Linked DNA regions of Homo sapiens: all the other regions are linked to region 2. Evidence: promoter capture Hi-C in 16 types of primary human blood cells and fetal thymus (Javierre and others, 2016). All regions are on one chromosome and are shown on one strand. The core of a region is centred on a gene start or on the middle of the fragment in contact, and the rest is flanking DNA. Distances in the headings are between cores, read along the strand shown.

What was found. The method cuts DNA at HindIII sites, captures the fragments that hold promoters and counts their contacts. A CHiCAGO score of 5 or more calls a contact.
Region 1: a fragment that was not itself captured here is called in contact with the fragment with the promoter of LRRC40 in region 2 in 4 of 17 cell types (non-activated CD4 T cells, total CD4 T cells, naive CD4 T cells and 1 more); the score reaches 22.9 in non-activated CD4 T cells.
Region 3: a fragment that was not itself captured here is called in contact with the fragment with the promoter of LRRC40 in region 2 in 2 of 17 cell types (total B cells and fetal thymus); the score reaches 12.3 in total B cells.
Region 4: a contact is called between a fragment that was not itself captured here and the fragment with the promoter of LRRC40 in region 2, in 1 of 17 cell types (total CD4 T cells). The highest score is 5.3, in total CD4 T cells.
Region 5: a contact is called between a fragment that was not itself captured here and the fragment with the promoter of LRRC40 in region 2, in 3 of 17 cell types (naive CD8 T cells, total CD4 T cells and naive B cells). The highest score is 8.6, in naive CD8 T cells.
Region 6: a fragment that was not itself captured here is called in contact with the fragment with the promoter of LRRC40 in region 2 in 1 of 17 cell types (total CD4 T cells); the score reaches 8.4 in total CD4 T cells.
Region 7: a contact is called between the fragment with the promoter of ATG4C here and the fragment with the promoter of LRRC40 in region 2, in 9 of 17 cell types (total CD4 T cells, non-activated CD4 T cells, naive CD8 T cells and 6 more). The highest score is 27.0, in total CD4 T cells.

Annotation. Positions count from the first base shown.
Region 1 is chr1:62,432,227-62,434,926 of GRCh38, forward strand. No RefSeq gene overlaps it. Among named protein-coding and RNA genes, the nearest start is that of USP1, 3.5 kb to the right of the region's middle. The HindIII fragment of the contact is 3,951 bases long and covers 1-2,700 here.
Region 2 is chr1:70,204,296-70,206,995 of GRCh38, forward strand. It overlaps LRRC40 (leucine rich repeat containing 40), which reads right to left and starts at 1,284. Exons shown (of 15, transcript NM_017768.5): 1 at 1,095-1,284. The coding sequence starts at 1,245. It also overlaps a transcript of SRSF11 not described here. RefSeq lists enhancers at 878-937, 1,198-1,507. The HindIII fragment of the contact is 8,465 bases long and covers 1-2,700 here.
Region 3 is chr1:77,965,932-77,968,631 of GRCh38, forward strand. FUBP1 (far upstream element binding protein 1) reads right to left here. Exons shown (of 20, transcript NM_003902.5): 3 at 2,234-2,272; 4 at 1,696-1,735; 5 at 1,118-1,170; 6 at 953-1,024; 7 at 763-820. Among named protein-coding and RNA genes, the nearest start is that of FUBP1, 12 kb to the right of the region's middle. The HindIII fragment of the contact is 1,999 bases long and covers 318-2,316 here.
Region 4 is chr1:62,452,037-62,454,736 of GRCh38, forward strand. It overlaps DOCK7 (dedicator of cytokinesis 7), which reads right to left. Exons shown (of 50, transcript NM_001367561.1): 50 at 2,690-2,700. Among named protein-coding and RNA genes, the nearest start is that of USP1, 16 kb to the left of the region's middle. The HindIII fragment of the contact is 5,172 bases long and covers 1-2,700 here.
Region 5 is chr1:77,686,142-77,688,841 of GRCh38, forward strand. No RefSeq gene overlaps it. Among named protein-coding and RNA genes, the nearest start is that of ZZZ3, 4.8 kb to the left of the region's middle. The HindIII fragment of the contact is 2,227 bases long and covers 162-2,388 here.
Region 6 is chr1:77,984,633-77,987,332 of GRCh38, forward strand. It overlaps a transcript of DNAJB4 not described here. Among named protein-coding and RNA genes, the nearest start is that of FUBP1, 6.9 kb to the left of the region's middle. The HindIII fragment of the contact is 598 bases long and covers 956-1,553 here.
Region 7 is chr1:62,782,880-62,785,603 of GRCh38, forward strand. ATG4C (autophagy related 4C cysteine peptidase) reads left to right here and starts at 1,253. Exons shown (of 11, transcript NM_032852.4): 1 at 1,253-1,394. RefSeq lists enhancers at 954-1,003, 1,104-1,163, 1,284-1,463 and a silencer at 1,439-1,733. The HindIII fragment of the contact is 3,523 bases long and covers 1-2,418 here.

The DNA.
Region 1 (2,700 bases), core at 128-2,627, 7.8 Mb before region 2:
TTTTCTTTCCTGCATAGGACTGTAGACATGATGGCTGGAATTTAAACAGCTATAAAGGACCGAAAGGTAGAAGCCACATGTTGAGAATGGAAGAAATTAATTAGGTCCCTGATGGTCACAGAACCACCATACTAATCTAGACTGCCTACTTCTGCATTATGTATACATGATAAAGACATGAATATTAATTTTAGCTAAGGACACTTAAAAATATTCTGTTACTTATAAACAAACCTATTCCTATCGGATGCAGAGTTTGGTTCCTATAAATTTGTGCTACACATAACCTTAAAAGAAATGTGGTTTTTAGTGGAAGCATTTGGGCAGTGGGTGGTAAAGACTCAGATACTGCAAGATGGAAAACTGGTGACCTTTGTTCTCCAGTTGCCAGACATTTGGTAAACCTGTTGCCAGCTTTAGAAGACAGATCACACGCCAATCAAAATTGTGGCACGAAGGGAAATGGCTGGAAATATCTATAAACTTGGTATTTGCTGGCTTTTTCTTGACACTTTAAACCAAGTTCTATGAGATATGAATTCAGGCCAGAAGTAACCAATTTGCATGTAGAAATGGAAAAGAATACAGTTTTGCTAAAGGAGAAATTCTGCTGTAATCCAAGTGGATTAAAAGTCTCATAATTTGGGCGGGACGTGGTGGTTCATGCCTGTAATCTCAGCACTTTGGGAGGCCGAGGCGGATCACGAGGTCAGGAGTTCGAGACTAGCCTGGCCAACACTGTGAAACCCCGTCTCTATTAAAAATACAAAAATTAGCTGGGCGTCGTGGCAGGCACCAGTAATCCCAGCTACTTGGGAGGCTGAGGCAGGAGAATTGCTTGAACCCAGGAGGTGGAGGTTGCAGTGAGCCAAGATCATGCCATTGCACTCCAGCCTGGGGGACAGAGCAAGACTCCATCTCAAAAAAATAAAAATAAAAGTTTCATAATTTGAAGATTTAAAGGGCGGAAAAAAACCACACTTCTTCTATACCTTTAGACTGAAGTACAGTTGGCCCTCCACATTCATGGGTTCCATATACATGGATTCAACCAACCACAGATCAAAAAATCTTATGAAAAAGGTACACAAAGTTCCAAAAAGCAAAACTTGAATTTGCCACGTGCCAAGTGTTAAATACTATGTTAAATCCATGTGAATGATGTGTAGGCATTGTATTAGGTAATTAAGTAATCTAGAGATGATTTAAAGTATAGGTGGGATGTGCATAAGTTGTATGCAAATACTATGCCATTTTATATATGGGACTTGAGCATCCTCGGATTTTGATATCCATAACGGTCCTGGAACCAATCCCCCATGGATACCAAGGGATGACTGTACACAGAAACAGTGCCTGTGAAACTTTGGAAGGAAATATGCCTGGCATTTACCCACACAAGACTGACAAATATAGGATTGAGAATGCTGTGAACCTATTAAATCCCATTGTTTCCAAAGGGATTAGCTGTCATTAAGAGTGGGGTAACTGGGGAGCACACAGAAACTGGGAAAAAAGTTTCGGGGCTTAAAAACTCATCTAGGCAAGAACTGTGGCTAGAATTTCTCCCACAAACAACTGACTGAAAGCAAAAGAATGAGAAGCATATTAAATTTTTACATTAATCATATTGCCAGAGACACACCAAACTTCTGCTATTGCTGTTGACAAGCACAGTTGTGGAGGTGTTTGATTTTTCTGAAGCAGCATTAGCAGAAACCTCAGTGTCTAGCCACTTGTCCTGTGGGCCTTGACAGACGGGACGTAGGATATGCATGGCACTGGTGCAGATCATAGTGGGTATAGTGTGGTTCTAGGGTCAGCGGTGCACGCAGCTTTCTGATGGTGGTTTCCTAGGCATGGCAGCAGCAGTGTGATTCAGAGACGTCATTTCCTGATCATAGAAGAGTCATTGCTTCCTTGGTGGCCTGGTTCTGGGAAGACTTTGGGACTCATTCCTGAAAAACTAATCTAGAGCCTATTTAATCAACCCTCCCAAGTATTCAATATCTTTGTGTTTATACTAGCTAAAATGGATTCTATTTTCCGCAAATGAATCTTAACTGATACCACACATTGTGTACAGGAAGAATAGTGGCTGCAGACAATAGGATCTCAGGAATATGGGAAAGTAGAATTGCTTATCTGTTCTCGTAGAGTTTGAAAGTAGCAATAATTATGCTAGTACTAGAAAATGAGACACTGCCACTCTGTGGTGCACAATGGCTAAGACTGACCTATATACATTTTCTAATCTTGTCCTTGTGTATTTCGTGATCTGCTGGTTCAACATCTGTTTGTACGTTAAACACCTCAATCTTAATATTCTAAGAACGATGATCCTTCCCATTGAGCCTACTAAGACCCCCATTTTAGCAAGGACCAACACTGAGTTGCTCAGGTTAAAAAAAAAATCGTTACTCTTTGTTTTTTTTTCTTTTTTCGGGTGGGAGGGTGGAGGGCAGGGCCTCACACTGTTGCCCAGGCTGGAGTGCAGTGGTGCATCTCGGCTCACTGCAGCCAGGGGATCCTCCTCCCTCATCCTCCCGAGTGGCTGGGACTACAGGCACGTGCCACCACGCACGGCCAATTTTTGGAGTTTTTTGTAGCGATGGGTCTTGCCATGTTGCCCAGGCTGATCTTGAACTCCTGGGTTCAAGCGGTCCACCGGCCCTGGCTACCCGACCTGTTTTTTCTTAC
Region 2 (2,700 bases), core at 34-2,533:
ATTAACCTTTTGGTTGGAGGGCAGAGAAAACAAAAAACATAAATGATATAAATTCTGATAGTGATAAATGCTGTTAAAAAATTAAACAGGTAAGAGAACAGAATGTTAGCATGATAGGTATGCAAGTTTAGAGAAAAATGTTTCAGGTTTTGGGGAAACCAAGTAGATATATATATATGCACAACTGTAGTTTGAAAATGAGTATGTTCCCATTGATCAAAAACTCTTTTAGGTGGAGTAAGGATTCTGTGTCTTTTCATTCATTCAGAAGCATTTGCTTGCCTAATCTACTTTATACATGTCACAATAAGAAAGCAATCATTAGAAGGAAAATGGAAGGTTTTAATCAGTCTTAAAACCTAAATATAAATGAAGAAAAACATTACAGGAAAAATGCTCTATTTCTCCATCTCTCCATTCCCCTCCCTCTCTCTCTTACACACACACACACACACACACACACACGACAATCAGAAGAGCATCTGGCCATTCATTCATGGTACCCAGATTTGTGCTTCTTGGTCTTTAACAGGTTTCTCAGGATGTCCCCACATTCAAACACTCTGTGTGGCATCTATCCTGATCTTCAACTTAGAAAATATACTCATTATTCCTTGTAAGTAGAACTCTGCACAGCTGCATACAGAAGAGCGTCTCGGCAGGGAACAGTGCAGGTTCACAAAGGGGCCGATAAAACATATAATTTTAGCTTTGGTAATTGCCCTTGAAGATTACAATAAGAGGAGGAAAATAAGGGCCAAAGAAACAAAAGATTTGCCCGTGATTTGATAGCTGGTTTCGTCACATATTATGTTGCTTATCCCACAGAATGTGGGAATCCCAGAAAGCGCCCCGTTTAAATTTAGACCGTATTTTTAGCAGGGTCCCTTTAACAGAGATTGCGGGAACCTGGGAAGGAACTGAACTGGGCTAACCAAACCGGTCGAAATGAGCACAGGGATTAGATTAGAGCACAGAAATTCTGGCTAGCAGTCTGAGAAAGGGGGCCAAAGCCAGCCCAGAGAAAAGGGAGGTTGCCTGGGCCAAAGGCTTTCTGACAGGAGACACAATAGGGTCGTACCTCTGGGTCTTACCTTCACTGAGGTTTCTACCCGACAGGTTTAACTGGCCGCTCTTCCTCGCTGCCTTCAACAGCCCTTGGGGTACCGAGGTACCGCAGTCTCTTCCACCTGCTTTGAAACCAGCGCGGAGATCCTGCCCCGCTATCCGCTTCAGGCGCGACATGTTCAAAGTCCTAGGTCCAGAAGCTGCAGCCCCACCCGTGACGCTTAAAGGTGGCGCCGTTGGGATGCCCCGCTCCTTTCGTGAGCGCGCGCTCTGGGCGCTGGGCTCGCGGCCTCGCGCTGGGCCTTCACTCTCTGCGGCGCAGTCCAGATGTCGTCAGCACCAGCGCCTGGGCTGGAGGACAGAGAAGCCTTTTCCGTTGCCGGTGCCGGCCTAGCGTCCTGGAATTACTTCAATCAAGTAAGTGCGTTTAACGGGCTTAAGAGGGGCTTTCGGGTTTATTGTTTGCACTGTTACTGCGACTCCAACCTTCTCCTCTGTGCTTCCACCGTGGCGAGGGTGTGGGGAAAGAGAACCCTCTCTTCTCCCCTCTCCTAGTCTGAACGTGGGCCTTGACTAAAACTTGAGATCTGGGCGCGGTCGGCAGCGTTTCTGGACCCCAGCCTGTGTTTGTCGCTTGTGGTGGTGGCGCCAGACCTCTGGCGTACGGAGTAAAAGAAATTTTCTGTTCTTAAGGCTTGTACTCTGACACCATTCTCGTTGTATTGAGGGTATATAGCTTACCCAGCAAAGGAGGTAATGTGAAATGGAAGGACTGGCAACATAGAAGACAAAAACAAAAATCCTTAAAATTTAATAAATGTTCTGTGTATCAGACAGTTTAGGGAGACAAGTAGTGGTACATGCTTTAGTGAAGCTCAGACAGCTTGGATTTTTGAGCCCTAAAAAGCAAGTTCAAATCTCAGCTGCTTCTTTACTTTAGAAACTGTTAACTTTAGGCAGTTTACTCAACCGCTTTTAAAGCTCATTCCTTTTTTTCATTACTTTGGGGATAATTCCTACCGCATAAGGTTTTTGAAATAAGTGAAGATAAAAACTAGAATCTTGAGCTCTCGGTGAGTCCAGAATAATAGCAAATGAAAATTTTGTTCAATGTAAGTCGGTGTTTCCTAGGAAATTAAAATTTTCATCTGAAATGTACAACTTCTTGATTCAACAAGTAATTATTAAGATTAATCCTGCCTAGTATGTGTACTATCCTGGGTGCTAGACTTTTCTTTTGCCTGAAATGATTTTGTTTTAAAAGCATATGCCAGGGAATACCATTCTAACCCCCATCAAGTCTACTGAGGATTGGTAGAATAGTTGAAAGCTAGGATGAAGGCCCTTTGATCAATTCTTCATCACGCACTTTTACCTGAGTCCAGGTTATTGCTACCTGTAAAATTCGGTTTTTAACTCTACCCTTTTTGTTCTTATTTCTGTGGAGTCCTTTACACTAATATCGAACAAGAGAAAGTTACCAATAGTTGTTACCCTACTAAAAAAGCAAAGAGTGGATTTTTGTCTTTTTTTTTTTTTTTTTTTTGAGACAAAGTCTGGTCTGTCGCCTAGGCTGGAATGCAGTGGCGTGATCCCGGCTCACTGCAACCTCCGCCTCCCAGGTTCAAGTGA
Region 3 (2,700 bases), core at 67-2,566, 7.8 Mb after region 2:
CCAGCTACTCGGGAGGCGGAGGTTGCAGTGAGCCGAGATCGTGCCCCTGCACTCCAGCCTGGCAACAGAGCGAGACTTCGTCTCAAAAAAAAGAAAAGAAAAAACCTAGTAATGAGGGAGAACTAACAATGCAGAAGAAAGTACAACTGCAAGCTGAACCTTCAGTAGGAAGAAAGGGCTGGCTTTAGGCACTCGAACACAAAAGGAAAGCAATTACCTGAGTACTATGTGAACAGAGGAAAAATGAAGGCTGGTAGGTTTAGTGGTAGGGAAAAAGAAAAGCTTCTTATCATTTGCTTCCATTTTCTCAGTAAATAAGCTTAAGTGGGAGAGCGTGGGGTTAGATGCTGAAGATTTGGAGGTGGGGAAATACAGTATTAAAGAGCCTGGGAGAGGAGTGGAAAAGTGAATGGAACTAGGGAAATGCAGGCAACACAACAGTCCACTTGAGCTTAATGTCTGAGTTTTAAGTGTCACCAGTCGACCTGACTGTGCATTCTTCTCCAGGCTACACGTGGCTTTACAAGTAGAGACTGGAGTAGATATGGAGTTGTTTTAACCATTTTCTGTGTTTAATGATTCAGATGATGAACCCCACCTGAGAAAGGCATGAGGCATAAACTTCAAAGGAGTTGGAGGACTTTGAGGGAAGGTGGCAGCGAAACCACAGTGTAAAATAAAGCAGTAACAAAGAGAAGAGACAAAATTCAAAGAGTTCTGCTGTTGTTACTTAAGTAGATTTTTAAGATTTTTCAAACTTACTGGACAGATTCAGGTGTTCCAGTTAACATACAGGACCTTTCTGGAAGGCCACCACTGTCTACAATTTAAAACAAACAGATAACTTCAGGTCAAAAGATTAAAAGTAGCATTATTGTTACTAGAAGGCTTAAAAAAAAAAAAAAGCTAGTTTTCTAGTCACACTGAAAATACCATGAGAATGTAACATTACCAGGAGCTATCTGTATTTTGCATCCAGATTCCTGTTGTATGCGTGAGATCTGTTCACCTCCTCTGCCAATTACTAGTTAGAAAAAAAAAAATTTTTTTTTTGGTTGAAAGATTCTAAAGTATGTTTTGATCATGTTTTCAAAACTTTAAAAATCAAGTTACTTACTGAATCCAACCATTCCATCTGGAACTTTGTATTCTTCTGTCATTACAGATCTGCTAAGAAATAACAGAAAGCACCATTTTCCTTCAATGAAAGATACTTTGTTTACAAATAAAAGATAATCTATTAATAAAAATGGAAGTCTAATGTCTCCCAATGGCTTAAACTAAGGTTCTAGGCTCAGACTCATGTCAAAAAATATGATCTTATTACTTGAGTAGTTAAATTAAGAAATTTAAGATGACACATCAAGTGAAGAAGGGATGATGAATGGAACAGTCTGAAGGCATTAACTGTAAAGAAGTTGAAGTGGAGTTTAGAGAATGTCATCTTAACAGTTACTCTAATTCACCCCTGTTCTTCTAAAATGTGGTTAATTCCACCTATCTCTCCAAATCACAAATTTTTCTCACTCAAAAGAAAAATCATCACTTTATGGTACCTTCCCAAGGGGAGTGATATGAACTAGGTACACCAAAAAATACACAGACACATATTCAATATACACCAATGTGGTTGTGTTTTTACATACAGCTCAACCAAAACTTGCAGAGTACTTTTTGAAAATCTTGTGACTATACCTTTGCTGCTGATGCATCGGTGGTAACTGTGTTCCAAAAGCTATCAAAAAATTAAATAAAAATAAAACAAAAATTCAAAATTTAAATTTACTTATATATTTAACAACACAATCACATCAAACATTCAAAAATCTCTCCCTAATGCACAGACAACACCTTGAAGAGAGTCAAATTTTTTACACAATATTTATATTGGCATTGACAGGGGCAAGAGAGCCAATGAAAGGGAAGACATTATATTAGCAATGGCACAGAACAAAATAATTTCCTTTTTCAAGTTGTACAAGTATAGATCAAGAATTGGAGTTGTTAAATATGTAAAATAATTCAGCAACCAATCTTTACATATACCCGGCCACAATTAATGGGACAGATTGTAAAATAGGAGAAAAAGGTATATATTTACAAAGAAATTCAGGCTAGCTGATCCAAAATACTCATAAACCAACTAACTTCAAAGATACCCAATAATATGAACAAAATCTTAACATTGAAATTGTTACTTTAGCTTTTGACCCAGTTTAAAAGGAATACTTACAGTCATTTTGAGGAGCAACTTTCTTAGCATCTGGTTGATCTGCAAAATTAAGTGTCTTTTAATTTTTTGCCAATTAAGTACAAAGCTTCTCCCCTCCCAAACAAGAATAAATAACAATATAAACATTTATTGAAATATCTGAAGGTATGGTTTATCATTTGAACCAAAACTGCCAAAATTCAACCCCAACTCAGTAATCTAAAAAAGAAACGATACTTCATTCTCTTCACGTTCAAAAGATGCACAGACATTAAAATAGTTATCTGATTCTTAAGAAATCACTGACCTTAATGTATGTTAAGCACATTAGAATGACACAAGACAACGTACTTTAGGTCCATTACTAGCAAAATATCACATGCTAAAGGCTAATGATGCTTCCACCTCAGGAACTGAAGACTGGGGGGAGAAAAGCCTATCAAACTACAAAAATCTGACATATTAAAGTGTATCTGACAGTGACCACA
Region 4 (2,700 bases), core at 138-2,637, 7.8 Mb before region 2:
TTTGGGCACACATAAAAACTTGGTTAAAATTTCATTTTAAACTAGTATACTGAAGTGGTAAGTGATGAATGATTTCATGACTTGTTAATGGACATTCTTGGTACTAAGTTTTTCCTAGAAATGATTCTAAATATGTAAATGCTATTGGGGTAACACTTTAATACCCCATTTCAACAAGGAGTACCTTCTCAATTAAAAAAAAATCGCAGTAGGCTGGGCGCGGTGGCTCACGCCTGTAATCCCAGCACATTGGGAGGCTGAGGCTGGTGGATCACGAGGTCAGGAGATCGAGATCATCCTGGCTAACACATGAAATCCCGTCTCTACTAAAAATACAAAAAATTAGCCGGGCGTGGTGGCAGGCATCTGTAGTCCCAGCTACTCAGGAGGCGGAGGCAGGAGAATGGCATGAACCCAGGAGGCGGAGCTTGCAGTGAGCCGAGATTGCGCCACTGCACTCCAGCCTGGGCAACAGAGTGAGACTCCGTCTCAAAAAAAAAAAAACACAGTTACATAATGTCTTATATTCTTTCATAGGATGATGAGATGGTAATAAAGTCATGGTTCTCCCCACCTTTCAGAATCACTAATGGAAATCCTTAAACAGTCCTGAGCGCTACCTGTAAGTTTTGAATGGAATGGGTCTAAGATAGACACTGGGCCTCTTAATACTCGAGAGACAGCCAGTTCTAAGAACTAACACAAATTCCTGATGTGAGAAAGTTCCATTTTAAGAAAAATGAAGTTTGTAAGAGGTTTGTATCATACGAATGTTTAAGAGGAAGCCTCTGTTCTGAAGGATGTCAGAAAATAATTGGTTTTGCATAATTATATAAATCATAAAGTCCTTGATATTACTGAGATTTCTGAGATTTTTGTCCAAACTGTTATATAAATGTAACCTAATGAGAAGTGACCCTTCAGTGGTTCCTTATTCTCTCCCTTATGTTTATACCCACCACTGACCCCCAAAGAAGAAGGGAAAATGTCACTTTTTTTGGAGGGGAGGGATTTCCATTCTTGACTCCTTACCTTTCCTTATTGTTCATTTGGCTCCTCAAATAGAGTTTTGAGGTTATGCCCTTCTGACTCAGATTTGGTCTAACAATGTAGACTCATCTGAAAAATGTTTTTGTGATTCAGTCTTTGAATTGATATAGATAAGAGGAATTTGAGATGATACTGCCCATTAAAGTACATGGAGTGTGGGATATCAACCATCACTTAGGCTCTCAGAAGTAGATATTTTTTAGTATATTTTGAATATTTACTACATTGACTATAGAATGAAGGCAATACGTTAAATCTGACCAGTTTTTGTTTTTTTTTTTTGAAACGGAGTCTAGCTCTGTCACCCAGGCTGGAGTGCAGTGGCGTGATCTCAGCTCACTGCAAGCTCCGCCTCCCGGGTTCACGCCATTCTCCTGCCTCAGCCTCCCGAGTAGCTGGGACTACAGGCTCCTGCCCCCTCGCCTGGCTAATTTTTTGTATTTTTAGTAGAGACGGGGTTTGACTGTTAGCCAGGATGGTCTCAATCTCCTGACCTCGTGATCTGTCTGCCTCGGCCTCCCAAAGTGCTGGTTTTTGTTTTTGACTTAAGAGTCTTGCTCTGTCGCCCAGGCTGAAGTGCAGTGGCGCCATTTTGGCTCGCTGCAACCTCCACTTTCCAGGTTCCAGTGATTCTCATGCCTCAGCCACCCAAGTAGTTCGGATTACAGGCACGGGCTACTACACCTGGCTGATTTTTGTGTTTTTGGTAGAGATGGGGTTTCACCATATTGACCAGGCTGTTCTTGAACTCCTGGCCTCATGATCCGCCTGCCCCTGCCTCCCAGAGTGCTGGGATTATAGGCCTGAGCCACTGCACCCAGCCAATCTGATCAGTTCTTTTATATATATGTGTGTGTATGTATGTATGTGTGTGTGCGTGTGTGTACAGATGATAGTTTTTTTTTTTTTTTTTTTTTTGAGACGGAGTCTCTGTCGCCCAGGCTAGAGTTGCAGTGGCTCCATCTCTGCTCACTCCAACCTCTGCTGCCCGGGTTCAAGCGATTCTCCTGCTTCAGTCTCCCAAGTAGCTGGGATTACAGGCTCCTGCCACTGTGCCTGGCTAATTAATTTCTGTATTTTTAGTAGAGACGGGTTTTCACCATCTTGGCCAGGCTGGTCTTGAACTCCTGACTTCGTGATCCACCCGCCTCGGCCTCCCAAAGTGTTGGGATTACAGATGTGAGCCACCGCACCCAGATCTGGTTAGTTCTTAAGTGATTCATGTAACTGGTCAGTAGAAGAAAAGGATTATAAATGATGCCATTCTGTAAACTGCACTACTACCCAAAAACCATTGTTCTAAACTGTTCTGGAAATCATTACTATGCATCGTTTTGGAAAAACTTGCCAAGAATTAAAATGTTACTTCTCAAATTTTTTTTCTGTATGACTTGCATATAATTTTAGATGAATTAAAGCACCTAATTTTACTTTTTATATGCTTCTAAACTTTACAAGTGTCAGAAAATAGGTAATTTCTCAAACTCCAGCTGTGTTACCTTCATGGTGCTACAAGATAGCTTTAAGTAGATTCTAATTTACTGGTTTACATCGTCAAAAACTGATGGCTGGTTTTAATTTGAAACAGAGAAATCATTCATTTTAGTTGCTAAGAATCATGAAGTTCTTACTACTATCATTGGTGTAATA
Region 5 (2,700 bases), core at 25-2,524, 7.5 Mb after region 2:
TCGCCCAAGCTGGTGTGCACTGGCACAGTCTAGGCTCACTGCAGCCTCCTGTGTCCCTTGTAGCTGAGATACGCACCACTGTGCCCAGTTAATTTTTGTATTTTTTATAGAGATGAGGTTTTGCCATGTTGCCCAGGCTGGTCTCAAAACTCCTGGCCCCAAGCTTCCACCCACCTCAGCCTCCCAAAGTACTGGGATTACAGGCGTGAGCCACCACGCCTGGCCCCCTTTGTTATTTTGACCTAGGATCACGTTATATTGAAGATGGAAGATACATTAACATCAACTAATTCAGCAGTTTGTACAATATTTTCTGAAGCACTGGAAATTTCTTGTATACTCATATTCTTATGCCAGGATCCAATATTTGAGCCAAATAAAACAGGACCTGGGAGGAGGCAACCAGCTGACATTTTCCTCAGTCCCTTACCACGACACATAAGATGCTACCTCAGAACACACTTTGAAAATCATTGATGTAGTTCATTCTTTCAACAAATATGCCAGGTGCCATACAAGGTGCTAGAGATACAGTGGTGAACAAAGCAAGCACAGGCCCTACTCTGACAGAGCTCACAGTCTAGGGAGGGAGGCTGACATTTAAAATATAATCACATAAATTCAAACTGGTTAGTACCATTCATGAAAAGTGCAGGTCACCCGTCTGGGAAGTGAGAAGCGCCTCTGCCCAGCTGCCGCCCTGTCTGTAAAGTGATGAGCCCTCCTGCCTGGCCGCCCAACTGTCTGGGAAGTGAGGAGCGCCACTGCCCGGCCACTGCACCATCTGGGATGTCAGGAGCCCATCTGCCCGGCCCGCACCGTCTGGGAAGTGAGGAGCACCCCTGCCCCGCCGCCTCACCTTCTGGGAAGTGAGGAGCACTTCTGCCCCGCCCCCATCCCGTCTGGGAAGTGAGGAGCACCTCTGCCCCGCTGCTCCACCATCTGGGAAGTGAGAGCACCTCTGCCCCGCTGCTCCACCGTCTGGGAAGTGAGGAGCGCCTCTGCCCTGCCCTCCCCCCTCCACCCCCCCCCCACGCCCCCCGCCACCCCACCGTCTGGGAAGTGAGAAGCACCTCTGCCTGGCTGCTCCACTGTCTGGCAAGTGAGGAGCGCCTCTGCCCAGCTCCCGCCCCGTCTGGAAAGTGAGGAGCGCCTCTGCCTGGCCACCCAACTGTCTGGGAAGTTCGGAGCGCCACTGCCCGGCCACTGACATCTGGGATGTCAGGAGCCCATCTGCCCGGCCTGCACCGTCTGGGAAGTGAGGAGCGCTTCTGCCTGGCCCCCACCCCCTCTAGGAAGTGAGGAGCGCCTCTGCCCAGTCCCCCCATTGTCTGGGAAGTGAGGAGCGCTTCTGCCTGGCCCCCACCCCGTCTAGGAAGTGAGGAGCGCCTCTGCTCGGCCCCCACCCCATCTGGGAAGTGAGGAGCGCCTCTGACCGGCCCCCACCCCGTCTAGGAAGTGAGGAGCACATCTGCCCGGCCCCCACCCCGTCTGCGAAGTGAGGAGGGCCTCTGCCCGGCCACCACACCGTCTGGAATGTGAGGAGCAAGTCGGGGAAGTGAGGAGGGCCTCTGCCCGGCCGCCCCGCCCCCCACCCCTCCTTCCATCTGGGAAGTGAGGAGCGCCTCTGCTGGCCGCTGTGCAACCCTCCAAGTGTGAAGTGACAGCCTTGTGCGTGCTCTTTCTGCCCTCCCCAAGTTTGCATTTTCGACATTAAAGTTTACTTTTTTTTTTGAGACGGATCGCTCTGTCGCCCAGGCTGGAATGCAGTGGCGCGATCTCGGGTCACTGCAAGCTCCGCCCCCCAGGTTCACGCCATTCTCCTGCCTCAGCCTCCCGAGTAGCTGGGACTACAGCCACCCGCCACTACGCCCGGCTAATTTTTTGTATTTTTAGCAGAGGCGGGGTTTCGCCGTGTTAGTCAGGATGGTCTCGATCTCCTGACCTTGTGATCCGCCCACCTCGGCCTCCCAAAGTGCTGAGATTACAGGCGTGAGCCACCGCGCCCGGCCTTAAAGTTTACTTTTTAATTAAAAGTTTTAAATTGGAGAATATACAAAAAAAAAGCGCAGGTCACTATGAGAATATGTCCATATACCCAAAAGTACATACATGTTCTAAAGTACTTCTGAGGAAGCAACATCCAATCTGAGATGAAGTATGCATTCACCACTTCTAAAGTGTGAATGCATTTAGGAGTTGGGCAAAGGTGGGAAAAACACTCCAGAGAAAGAGAACAGTTGATGCAAAGCCCCCTACATGGGATGGAAGTTATTATTTATTTACTACTACTACTTACTATTGCCTGAAAGAAACCACTGTTTTTTTTCCCACGTATATAAAATCTAAGATGAAGTCATATATCCTAATTTCTTTCATTGGATCATAAGCTTTTTTCTATGTCATTAAATATTCTTCAAAAACCCCAAGAACTGGGCCAAGCATGGTGGCTTACACCTGTAATCCCAGCACTTTGGGAGGCCAATGTGGGAGAATCACTTGAAGTCAGGAGTTCAGGCCTAGCTTGGGCAACATAGCAACATCCCATCTCTATAAAAAATATTTTAAAATTAGCCAGGCTTGGTGGTACACACCTGTACTCCCAGCTACTCTGGAGGCTAAGGCAGAAGGATTACCTGAGCCAAGGAGTTTGAGGCTGCAGTGAGCTATGATCATGCCACTGCAGCCCAGCCTGAGCCA
Region 6 (2,700 bases), core at 5-2,504, 7.8 Mb after region 2:
CTCCTCTGTATAAAAGAGGGCTTGTCAAGGACCGCGTCTTATTCTTTGGTTTGCCCAGTATGCTTTTATGTTGGTAAAAGTTTAATAAATATCAAGTTGAATTCTTTATTCCACTTATCATTTTCCTACAAAGCTACATATGATTATGAATGTGGAGGGCCTTTGAGGCCAGATGGCACTGAAGGGTAGTTTCACACAAACTTTTCTTAGAATATCAGTCTTGGAAAGACCTTGAAGGTAATCTCGCCCATTTGTTTCATTTTATATTGGAGGAAACCATAACACAGATTGCTGAGTGCCTTCTACAAAGTGCCAAGATTAATTGCAGAGCCAAGACTAGATTTCTAATCCAGTGCTCTTTATTTTGTGAACTGTCTTCTATATGAAGCATCGGTGTTTGGGTTGGAGGTTTTCTGCTTCTTAGGTACAAGAGGAAGAAGAATCTGTACAGAACCAAAAACATCTTAATTTTTGTAATCAGGATGTCTACCTTTACTGACAACATTTACTGACAACATTTCCTTCTGAAAATAGGTTATTGAAAGATCAAGGATCTTTGCCAGTGAAATCCTTAACTGGAAGTGGGTGGGTACAAGATAGAAAACTCATTTGGTATAACAATTTTGTTGTTTTTTAGTGGAACCTTGCTTCTCTGTTCTGACATTTCCATGTCTCTATTTATAGTAGTGATCTCTTTGGAATTTGCCTTCTGATTCCATTTGTTCCTTTATGTTGCTTCATATTAACTGATATTCTCACTTCATTTAAAAAAAATTTGAAGGGACATGTACTTAAGAAAAAGGAATTAATTTTTTTATAAGAAATATCTGGAGGTACTATTTTTCTATGGTTTATCATAATCATTGTTTATGCCAGGTTATCTAATTGTAGCAATAATATAAATACTATTTTTTCAAGCAAGAATGTTAGTTTTAAAAAATTTATGTGCATATTAAGCTTTAGACACCTTTTATCCAGGACAGATATTACCTTTAGATTCTTAACAACCTTGCTCCTTAACTATGCACTTTGATATAAATGAAGATTGAGAGGTTTTAGTTAGAGCTTTTAAGTGGTAAACGGTCAAGGGCAGGAGCTATCTTATTTACCTTTGAGATGACAATAATGCCTGGCATCTAGTAGGTCCTAATTAATCTATTCATTTATTCAATTCAACAAAAATTCTGGGCATTGTTCTAAGTGCTAGAGATACAGTAGTAAACAAAATAGACATATATCTCACCGTCTTGTCTTGAGCATGCTAGTGAGTGAAGGTGGATTGAAACCATGGATCACTTTGCAGAGACTCCCTATTGTTTTCAGACAATTATTTGTATCAGTCTAACCAATAATATCCTGTAGCTAATTAAGCAATGGTTTGAAGAGTCAGAATGGGAGAAGCTGAATGATCAGATAGATCATTCATTCATTAAACATTTAATTTCCTAGTGTATGTTAAATTATTTGAAACAAGCTAGTGAATGTGAGTCATTGTCATCCCAATTGTCAGCCTGATTCTTGTGCTCTGTTTATATCTTGGGGTAAAGACTTCAAGCTTCTGGCCAGGTTACAGCCCGGGAACTTCATCTCAGATCACATACCACTGAATCCTAAGTGCATAAAATAATGTGTGCCATGTAGTAAATATTACTACATTAATCCTTAACTACTCGAAATGCAATTTCCTCACTACTTATGGCCACAGCCTGCATCTAGTCTTCATCCAGACAACTCAAACAATAAAAATCTTCAAGTCTGATATTCTCCTCAAGATGACCTCTTGTCAGTTTGTTTCCTAATGTACTTCTTCCGTTCCTCTAGTCTCTTGACACTTCTCTTTTCTTTCCATCTCTTACTTGCTGGCTTTCCTTCTTTGCCATTCACGTCAGTAATTCTCAACTCCCACTCCCCTTTGTCTTTTAGTTGTGTCCATTCTTTAAATCAACAACTCTTAATCAGTTCAAATTGACTTTGGAGTCGGATGAACTTCAAATCACCATTTGCTACTTCAGTGACCTTGCCAAATTCTTTAACCTTTTTTGAGTTTGTTTACTCCTTGTCACCCTAAGCATTGTTTTGAAAATTAAATGAGATTATTGTATCCAGATACTTTTGACCACAAGTAATGAAAACCCTTATTAAATGGCTTAAATAATAAAAAATCCAGGGGTAGAGTGGCTCTAAGGCTGGTTGATGAGCAGCTCAACAATTTATGAGGTACCCATGTTTTTTTCATCTTTGCCTTCTACCACCCTCAGCTTCTTGACTTTACTCCCCTAATGATTGCATAATGGTTGCCACAGTTCCAGGTGTCATGCAGTCATGATTGTTAAATGGAAGGGGAAAGTTTCTGCTACCAGTGTCCCTACCCTCCACCCCTGCCACAACTGCCAATCTTATTAACCTTGTCCTGACCAGAGTTGAGTCACAGGCTTACTCTATCAAGTGTCATACTGGCTTAGAATAATTAGGATTCATCTCAGGGGTGAGGGAGAGGCCCCACTTTCCTAGTAATAGTTATTCTTACTACTGCATTTGTGAGTGCTAGGACTCAATCCTTGTGCCCTTTTACCCTATCTATGATTCTAGTAATTTCCTCTAGTCTCATGGTTTCAAATATCACCTACACTCTTCCCAAATTTTTCTCTTTTAAGAGACAGGATCTCTGTCGCCCAAACTGAAGTGCAGTGGTGCAATCTT
Region 7 (2,724 bases), core at 3-2,502, 7.4 Mb before region 2:
TATTTTTACTTTTTTGAGACAGGGTCTTGCTCTGTCGCCCAGGCTGGAGTGCAGAGGCACAATCTTGGCTCACTGAAAACTCCGCCTCCCGAGTTCAAGCGATTCTCCCGCCTCAGCCTCCTGAGTAGTTGGGACTACAGGCGCGCGCCACCGCACCCGGCTAATTTTTTATATTTTTAGTAGAGACGGGATTTCACCATGTTGGCCAGGCTGGTCTGGAACTCCTGGGCTCAAGTGATCCGCCCGCCTCGGCCTCCCAAAATGCTGGGATTACAGGCGTCAGCCGCCGCGCCTGGCCAAAAATTTCCACGTTATAAAAAGCATCTTCGGACCGTCCTTTTTTCTTTCTTTCTTTTTCTTTTCCTTCTTTTTTTTTTTTTTTTCCCCACAAAGCCTCGCTCTGTCGCCCAGGCTGGAGTGCAGTGGCGCGATCTCTGCTCACTGCAACCTTTGCCTCCCGGGTTCAAGCAATTCTCCTGCCTCAGGCTCCCGAGTAGCTGGAATTACAGGCGCCCGCCGCCACGCCCGGCTAATTTTTTAATTTTTTAACAGAGACGGGCTTTCACCATGTTGGCCAGGTTGGTCTCGAACTCCCAACCTCAAGCGATCCACCCGCCTCGGCCTCCCAAAGTGCTGGGATTACAGACGCGAACCACCGCGCCCGACTGTCCTGTGTTTTAATGCTTGAAAATAATCTGAATATGGAAAATGAGTGCACATATCCCTTGATGTTTTATAAATAACCTACAGTCCTAATAATGGCTTGGCTTAGAGTTCCTTCACAACAGGAAAAGAAGGCATCCTGGCTTTTTTTTTTTTTTTTTTTTTAAATCAAAGTGAGGCTTGGGTTGGCTCTATCTTGGTCCTGAGTGCGAGGAAGGAGGGCCGCAATGCATGCTGGATCTTGCAGTTCCTACGCCAGAGGCAAGGGCGTGATGCTGCATGGCCTGCTGGTAGTTGAAGTCCAAGTGCTCGAGAGGAATTTATGGCAGCCGTAATGTGGTTTGTCTATCAGAGAGACAATGCTCACAGACGGATACTTTCTCTTGGTTCTGCGCTTGCTGCATTGGTGGATTAGCGGCTTGGGGTGGCGAACAGGTGGGAAAAAGGGATGGATAAAGTAAGCATAGCAGAGGCCTTTACGCCGCTGCTATCGCTACTGCCAATCGCAAGGCTTTCGTATCCCGGAAGTGGCTGATCTGTTGGATTTGACGCGGAGGCGGTTCCTCTTACTACGGTGGCCGGGGTGCTCAAAGTACCTGTAGCTGCGGCGCTGAGGTCGGAACGTCTGCGTGTGTGCGGGCTGGTTTTGTGGCGGCTGCTGCTAGAGCTGGAGCATTTGCCGGGTTGGTGGCTCCTGCACATTTTTACAGTTCTCCAGTCCTTCTCTTTCGGTGAGGGATCGGCTTGAGGCTAAAGGAGTCAAGAAGTTTGGGACTTAGCGTCTCTGGTCCCCGAATGACTGGGTTTCTTGCGGGGGTCCGCCTTCAGTGAAGACCCTGTGGCCAACCATCTGGGTTCTCTGAGGGTTTTGGCGCCTTCCTTGTCTCTCCTTTCTAGTGTCATTTGTCTTCTAACTCTTCCTCGCTTTGTCCTGGGTTGCAGAGATAAACCGTAAGCCTAACTGTGGGCAGCTGTTCCTCCTTTCCTTGTGGTTTTCTTAGATGTTGCAGGCAAGACTCTTTCCCCTGATCTATCGCATCCATTTGACCCCTCCTCATGCCAGTGCTCTGTCGGCCCTGTTTTTCCTCGTTTAAAAAATAAAAAAAGGGAAATAATAATAATAACTGGATCCCCACTGTCTCTCTGTTCTCATTCCTAGCCTCTTTCTCCCTTTTTGGTGTTTGTTACTGCTTCAAGCCATAACACACTGCCTTGCATATATTAATGCCTTTCCATCTAAATATTAACGTTCATTCACTTCATTTGGTTCCCGCTCACCGTGAACTCTCCCAACCCTACCCACATCTAAGGGCTTTTGAGGTTGGAGGTGTAGAATAAATTCTTACATATGATGACTATATTCATATATGAGAACCTTCAGCGGTCAACTCAGCATCACTGCTTATTGAGTTTATATTTCTTGTGATTTCTTTGGCTTACCTTTTCGTTTTGTATTGGTTATTTACCCACATGGGGCTCACTGCTACCCTATAGTTACAGAAGAATACCTCGTCTTACATCTTTTTATATCCGAATTACTTAGGAGTTTTCTTATGTTTTCCTGCTCGGACCATATGTCCCCGGTGGGTTTTTGGCAATGATTTTGTGTCAGTTGATGGCAGAAAGAGACAAGGGAATGATCTTCTTGCTTGCTTGTGACTTGTAATTAGATTATGAGCCATTGAGAATACCCAGAGGGAGTGGAAAGGCTTTGAAAGGTAAAGTCTATGTATTTTCTGAGTTTCAAATTGATAAAGCTTCTTCTTTGAACAGGAAGAGTTTCTATTTAGTCCAATAATCTGAGGCTATATTGAATTACCAGTTCATTCGCTATAAAATTTTTAGAACCACATGTCAAAAAGTGGCCCATCTAAAGAATTGTATAATTTAGCAAAAAGTCATTAAAAGCCATTTAATTAATGCTCTTTTTCTTTAAAATAGGATTCAAGTATTTGGAAAAATGTATTTATGGTGATTGGTTATGAAGTATTTCTAGATGTTTTGATGGTTCTGGTGAACAGCATCGTATTCTGTTCACTAATGTTTTATAAAAAGGCAGAA